Regions from separate parts of the Homo sapiens genome. Here region 2 is linked to region 1. Evidence: promoter capture Hi-C in 16 types of primary human blood cells and fetal thymus (Javierre and others, 2016). All regions are on one chromosome and are shown on one strand. Each heading gives the region's core, a stretch centred on a gene start or on the middle of the fragment in contact. The rest is flanking DNA. Distances are from core to core; before and after follow the strand shown.

What was found. Contacts are between HindIII fragments. The CHiCAGO score rates a contact against its expected background, and 5 or more counts as called.
Region 2: a contact is called between a fragment that was not itself captured here and the fragment with the promoter of ZNF32 in region 1, in 1 of 17 cell types (neutrophils). The highest score is 5.4, in neutrophils.

Annotation. Positions count from the first base shown.
Region 1 is chr10:43,647,372-43,650,814 of GRCh38, reverse strand. ZNF32 (zinc finger protein 32) reads left to right here and starts at 1,934. Exons shown (of 3, transcript NM_006973.3): 1 at 1,934-2,013. The region is part of intron 1 of ZNF32-AS3 (ZNF32 antisense RNA 3); the gene reads right to left. It overlaps ZNF32-AS2 (ZNF32 antisense RNA 2), which reads right to left. Exons shown (of 3, transcript NR_047558.1): 3 at 2,796-3,246. RefSeq lists a silencer at 1,909-2,428. The HindIII fragment of the contact is 4,172 bases long and covers 1-2,769 here.
Region 2 is chr10:44,827,493-44,830,935 of GRCh38, reverse strand. All of the region lies in intron 4 of TMEM72-AS1 (TMEM72 antisense RNA 1), which reads left to right. Among named protein-coding and RNA genes, the nearest start is that of TMEM72, 82 kb to the left of the region's middle. RefSeq lists an enhancer at 886-1,749. The HindIII fragment of the contact is 4,928 bases long and covers 1-3,443 here.

The DNA of each region.
Region 1 (3,443 bases), core at 685-3,184:
CCTTTGTGGCTCTGTGTTTCCCATTTTACATTAATCCATCTGGAGGTTCTCTTGGCATGGGAGTTAGGTAAACATTCAACTCCCCGACCCCACCAATGTCTAGCCCTTGTCATAACACCATTTATTGAATTATCTGTCCTTCCCCTAATATTTTGAAATGCCTGCAAAGTGAGGAAATTGTTCTTTGGTAATTTTTCAAATCTACACTGCGGATGATTTCCCTTTCACCCTCACCCCACACCCTCCCTTTTGTTGAGTATTTGCCTTAAGATGCAGGTGGTGGGTGAGGATGTGCCCCATTTTGCAGCTGGGCAGTCTGTCTATGGAGGCTGGGGTCACATCAACCCCAATCCTAACAGCTTTCTCCCCTGCTTTGGGCCCTTCAATGTGTCCACTTTCCTGAGACGCCTTAAGGGAATTTATGCAGATCTATAAAAGTGACGATGGTCCCCCCTCACAGCCACCTTTTCCCACCAATGCTTTGTCATGTACCTTCACGGCAGGATCTGAAACTTGTCCTAGTGTCCACAGCCGGTCTTGACCTTAACAGAACCTATGTACCCTTGTGTGAAGCAGAGGCCGCAGCCTTAGGACTCTGAGCCTTGGCCTTTGCTGTGTGCCGCCCTCCACCCCTTTCTCAGACTTGGGAGGAGTGAGGAGAGGAGCCACCTGGGGCAGTTCAGGAATGGGGAGCTTCAGGACAGTTTGCACCACACACTCTGGGACTTAGCTGTGCAACACCCCGACCCCCATGTGAGGAAGGTGGTGTTTGTTTGCTCCACCAGACTGTCAGCTCCTCCCTAGGAGCACGGAGTGTGTCTTGCTCACATTCGTATCCCCAGTGTCAGCACTTAAAATGGATTCAACGGATAAATGTTGAATGAAATTCAGAAATGATGTGCAATAGTAAAAGCTAACATTTAGGAATCAACTTATTACTTACAGACACCTTTGCATATTGAGTGAAATTAAGTTGTTTGATTTAACAAATCTGTGGCTTTGGGGTAGAGAACAAGAACATAGCAAGAGGAAGCATTCTTTATTAGTCCTTCACGAAAGAGGATGGACAGACACATCTACGGAGAGGGGCTCCAGAGGCAGGGACCCAGAGATACACCCGGCCAGGCAGAACAGCTCCAGGATGTGGCCCCGATCCTGGAAAAGTGCGTTTAAAAGAGGCTTAAGGCATATCAGACAGCCTGGCCAACATGGTAAAACCTTCATCTCTACTAAAAATACAAAAAAATTAGCCAGGCATGGTGGCACAGACCTGTAGTCCCAGCTACTTGGGAGGCTGGGGCAGGAGAATCACTTGAGCCCAGAAGGCGGAGGTTGCAGTGAGGCGACACCGTGCCACTGCACTCAAGCCTGGGAGACAGAGTGAAGGAAAAAAAAAAACAGGCATTATTAGAGAGGCTTTATCTCCTACGTGTTCAAAAGCAACCATGCTCCTCCCAGTATCTCAGGACGACTGGACTGCCTGTGTTCCTGTTGCTCTTCACAGAAGCTCCATGAAAGCGGGCTTCGCTTTTGTTCATGCAGCCAGAGGCTCAACACATGACCTCGAAGCCGCCAAGGCTTTATCAAACGGATTTCTCCCAAAAACTTCGTTTCCTTCCGCGACGCCCTGCAAGAACCCTGTATTCCTGAGTCCCTGGCTCAGCGTCTGCTACCCCGATGCTGTCAATCAGATCCTGCTAATCTGAGCGGCCGTGGCTCCGTCCCGGCTCCGCGTCCGCTGACAGGTCACCGCTGTGAGTCTCCGGATTACCAGTCCAAACGGGACGGCTTGAGGTCCCCGCGCCCTAGGGACCTGCGGGGCCCGAGCGCAGGGCGCGCCAGAGAACTACATTTCCCACAGAGCTCTTGGGAAGCCGGGGCCGCCGAGACCCACGGCCCGGCGGGCGGGCTCGCGGGGAGACTCCTGGGAGTTGTAGTCCATTCCGCCGGCGCCGGCGCTGGCGCTGCTGCGGGCTCGGCGCCGGCCTTTGTCTGCGGGCACGCGCCGCTGCGGTGAGTGAGGCCGCTGGCCGGGTCAGAGCGCCGGGGCAAGGCGGGGCTGCGCCATCAGACCGCTGTCCCGGGCCCTCCGTGTGGCCGCCTTATGCCAGCGGCCGCCAAGGAAATGAGCAGGCCTGGCCGGCCCGGGCCCCGAGGGAGGCCAGCCGCGAGCGGAGAGGTCGGCGGTCCGCAGAGCAGGGTCCCGTGGACCGGAGAGCGGGATGCCGAGGTTCAGGACGCAGGGCGGGCCCGGTGCCCGGGGCCCGGGGCCTGAGGCGGGAGGGCAGCGTCTGCGGAGAGGAGCAGGGCCCATGGCGTCGGGGCGTGGGAGGGGGAGGCCGCGGCAGGCTCACCCGGCCTCCGTGCGGGCTTCAGCGAGTGCGGGAAGCCGGTGCCGGCCTTCCGGGGTGGGAGGAGAGGCAGCCCCTGCGGGGGAGAGTAGGAAGCCAGGCAGCGTGTGGGAAACCACGCTACCCACAAGCTCCTAAACCTGAAACTGGCCCCAGGACATTTTCCAGACCGCCAAGTGTACCCCTCTTCTCATCCGCCCTCCAGAGGACGCCGGATTTTAGATCTTAAGTCTGGTGGTCTCGTCTGATACTCCTCTTGTTTGGTTCTTTCCTTCTCATTGTCCTACCTGATAGGACAGTGTTAGTAACCTGTTTAATAAGTGGGGAAGCAGAGTCAGGGCTGCTGGGTTACTCGCCCAAGATCATATCCTGGGGGAGCCACGGCAAGAAGCCAAGACTCACGGACTACTTCTAAGCTTTTTCCAAAGGATATAGTAGCCTTTCTAATAGGAAAATCAATGTTTTTAATTATAAAGCCACTTTTACAAAATCTTGGGGAAACTGCTTCCTCAGACCTGTGATCTAGGGAGAAAAATATGACAATTTCTCCCTTACTAATCACGGAGGTCCCTGATAGGCGGCGGAGTTGTAACTTGAAGACCTCACAGCAGGTGGAGAGGCAGAGCTGTGAATTCTACTCTAATTTCTGGAATCCCCGGCGACAGAGTCCAACCCCAGGCAGCAGGCGCCATGTACCCCAGGGACTTTTAATGTGTGTGCAGCTGTTGAGCAAGAATACCTTGAACTTCCAAATGATGTGCTGGCATGCTGGTAGGGAATTCCTTTGCAGCTTGTGTTCCAAGTTGGAAGTGAGTCCTCCAAATAAAAATTTAAATGATTCTCCTGGTCATCACAGCATGTAGCAGAATGTGCAGTTGTCAAGAAGAACCAGGTGCTTAGGTTGACAAAACAAAGAATGGTAGCATCATACTATTATTTCATTAAATCAGAAGGCCAGCATTTTGATAGGACAAATTAGAGGGAAACAAGGAGTATGCATTGAACCACTGCATTTCTTAAAAGTATAAGAATTCAGTAATTAGGATCCTGAAGTAAGAAGAAATATTTTTTTTAAAAAATAGATCATGTGGG
Region 2 (3,443 bases), core at 435-2,934, 1.2 Mb before region 1:
GAAATGACAACAAAGGATGAATAATTTTATATAAATGTAGATTACAATAAAGTAGTGGGAGTGCTTGAGGGGATTGACTCCAATTTTGAAAGATGTTCTAATGTGGGTAAAATACTATCAAACAGCATCACATGCTACAGGGAAATCTTTCATGAAAGAGTCAATGGATGTAGTAAACCTCATTGTTGTCTTATTTTATGAAATTGCCATGGCCACCCCAACCTTCAGCAACCACTGCCCTGATTAATCAACAGCCGTCAACATGTCAACATCAAGCCTAGACCCTCCACCAGAAAAAGATTACAAGTCTCCGAAGGCTCGGATAATCATTAGTATTTCTCAGCAATGAAGTATTTTTGAATTAGGGTATGTGCACTGCTTTTTTAGACATAATGCTATTGTACACTTCATAGACTATAGTATACTATAAACATAACTGGTATTCAGTGGGAAACAAAAAACATGTGACACACTTGATTGTGATATTTGCAGTATTTGCAGACAGTAGTTTGTCACTGAACCCGCAATGTCTCCAAGGTATGCTTGTATGTAACTAGAGGTTTTTTCAGTGGGATAGACTCAATAAGCCAATTGCATATCCATAATCAATTAAATATTTTCTTTTGTTTGACTTCCCTGTTTGTATTATAGAAATCTCCTTCTTGCATTCCTTTGATGGAACTCACAAACCACTTCCTCTTTGGAGCTGCCTAATTCATGAATCCCTGTTTGCTCAAACTCTTTAAAAATTTTACTGTGCTTTGGTTTACCTTTTTAACCCTGCAATGTGTATCAAAGGGTGCTTAGCACATAGTGAATGGAGATATTAGTAGTTCTTCTCTGATGCTTTCCAAGTTCGGCGAAATCTTGAGGCTCTCCACTCACATTTGCAAATGCTAAACGCTCCTGTGGTGGAGAGAGCAGGGGGGCTGGTGTGTGGACACCCTCTGAGGTGTTCTCACTGGCCACTGGCTCCTTTTGTTGTCTCCCTTTCAATTCAGTACCAGAACATCCCTTCACCGGCAACTTTCGAGTGGGCCTGCTGAAACAATCAAGGCAGTGCCTCCACTTAACTTTGAGAAGGTAGTGTGTGAGAGATTTAGAATAAGCAGCTCTGGAACTACTCCCAGTTTACTCTTATAATTACATACACAAAAAAATCAAAACCTCAGTTTATTTGTCCAAAAATGGGGATAGTATTCTTGTCCTACATGATGAGTGTACTAATCCTTCCAGCCAGCATTCACCTGGGGCTCTGTGCTCCAGGCAGGGTGAGGGTTAGGACTGCATGTAGGTGCTGCCTTCACACCCGGAGCAGGCTGGAGCGAGTGGTGTGAAGCCTCCCAACCCCACGGCTGGGGGCAAAGGCTGTGCTAAGGCACCCGGACATGGAGCTGGCCTGGCCTGAGGACTCAGAGTGGAAAGACAGGAAAGACACTGGCTGCGCTGAAGCGCTGGGACCCGGGAAGGGGCGTCTAGGCAAGAGCGCCTGTGAACAGGATTTGTAAGCTGCTCTTGGTGACTTTTGGACAGACACTCTTACTTGCTTTACTGCTCCCCTTTGTCTTCTGCCCCCTTTCCCTAAAAGTATTTCCAAATGTGTGATGCCCACCAGGTTCCTGGGCAGTGCAGTGGGATGTCTGCTTGGTTTCTGCTGATCCTCACAGAGCCTGGTGACTTCTTCCTCCCAGGTCTGTGGATCAACACTGTCTCCCTGGCCTCTACCCAGCGCGCAGGACCCCTTAGCAGAGCAGGAGAACTCAGGTTGGAACTCATTATTGCATGGTGCTTGTCTTGCCATCTGTCCCCATAATGCCTTAAGTGACAATGACATAGGCATCTGACAATGTATGTGGCCATCACTTTTTATCATTTTAAGATATATGGGCCTTCTTTTTCCAACTCTTTTCCCCCGCCAGACAGCCAGGAGCCCAGAGAAGGGTTGTGTTGTGTCCTTTACTGAGCCCCACAGGCCTGTGTGAGCCAGGGGCTTGGCATGCCTGGGAATAAGAGCGCCAGCCTTTGGCCTTCCCGCAGCCTCTCCTTGGGGCCTTTAGGGTCCCCACAGGCCCTCCCCTCCCCTCTGCATTTTCCAGGATCCAGCCAGCTGCCGGCACACTTTCGTCCTCCTCCGCACACGAGGATCCCCAGGCCCAGCGGTGTTAGCCCAGAGAGGAGCGGCGTTTGGGATGTGATCCACAGCTGATCCCTCGTGGCCCCTCCTCTCCCGAATCCTGAAACATGAGGAGGCCCTTCAGCTGCTGGCTCGGAGTCCGACTATGGGAACTTTCTCCGGTCTACGGGGGCAGCAAGGGTCTCGCCTCAGGGACTTGGTTTATTTATCTAGCTGGACTCCATCCCTTAATATCCTACTTACAGAGGAAGAGGCTTTAGCAGCTAAATGCAGCCCCATCCCCTCCTGTGGAGACTGTGAGCAGAAAAAGAACAGATATTTACAGAGGCCCGAGCCCCCCTTGTTGTTTTCTGCAAGGCTGTCGAGCTGGTGGAGCTTCAGGATCCTGGTCAGGAACCCCGAACCCAGCGCTGGAGGCCCTGAAGATCAGGGCACCCGACCCTCTTCCCAGCCGCCAAAGGCCTGTGTTGGTCTGATTGTGGATTCCAAGCTCTAATTTCCATCCATCCTCCCAATCCGAATTCCCTTTGCAGACATAAACACCATCAGCAATGTAGAGAATGTGTTTCCTCATCTTTGAATATTAACACTCATCTGTTTAATTGAGCTACTTTTTACATACATGTAAGATGTGCTGCAATTGCAAAAGAAACATGTGCTTCGTGTTCTATAAGCCATATCTTCCGCAAGACCTGCCATCAAATGATTGCTCAAACATTTGTTGAATGGGATGAGCAATGGAGGTTCAGACAGGTGCCCTGACCTACCCAGGCTGGAGGGTAGGGAGCTAGAAATTCATACAACCATGCCTTGTTCTACTTGTTTTGTGAAAGAATCATGTGACCAGTGACAAAGAGGCTGGGCAGCTGGGTCAGGCAGCAGGGACAGCGACTGAGCTGGGGGGACTACAGTGCTGTGCTCCTCTGCACCCGTGCTGGGATGTCTGAGGCCAAGCTGACACTGGCCCCCCACAATCCCTTGGGGCTGCTCCTCCTCAGGGAGTGGCTCTCCGGGTTTCCTGCTTGACTCCTGCTGCTCTTGTGTTGAAGGGCCGTCTCTGGGCAGCTCCCCCTGGCCCCTGGCCAGAGAGCCAGGCCCTGTCAGGCACGCACATGGAGGATGAGGGAGGTGCAGTTGTTTTCACAGGTGCAGACTCTAGAGGGACCCCACGTGGACTCTGTGGCTTCTGCCCCGACGCACTCGCGGGAGGACACAGCTCTGCCCGGAAGGGAGAGTGCTGAGCTGGGTCCCTGCTGCTCATCTCTGTGGCATCACCCTGTCAGTCCTTCCCTGTCACACATATGTTCCG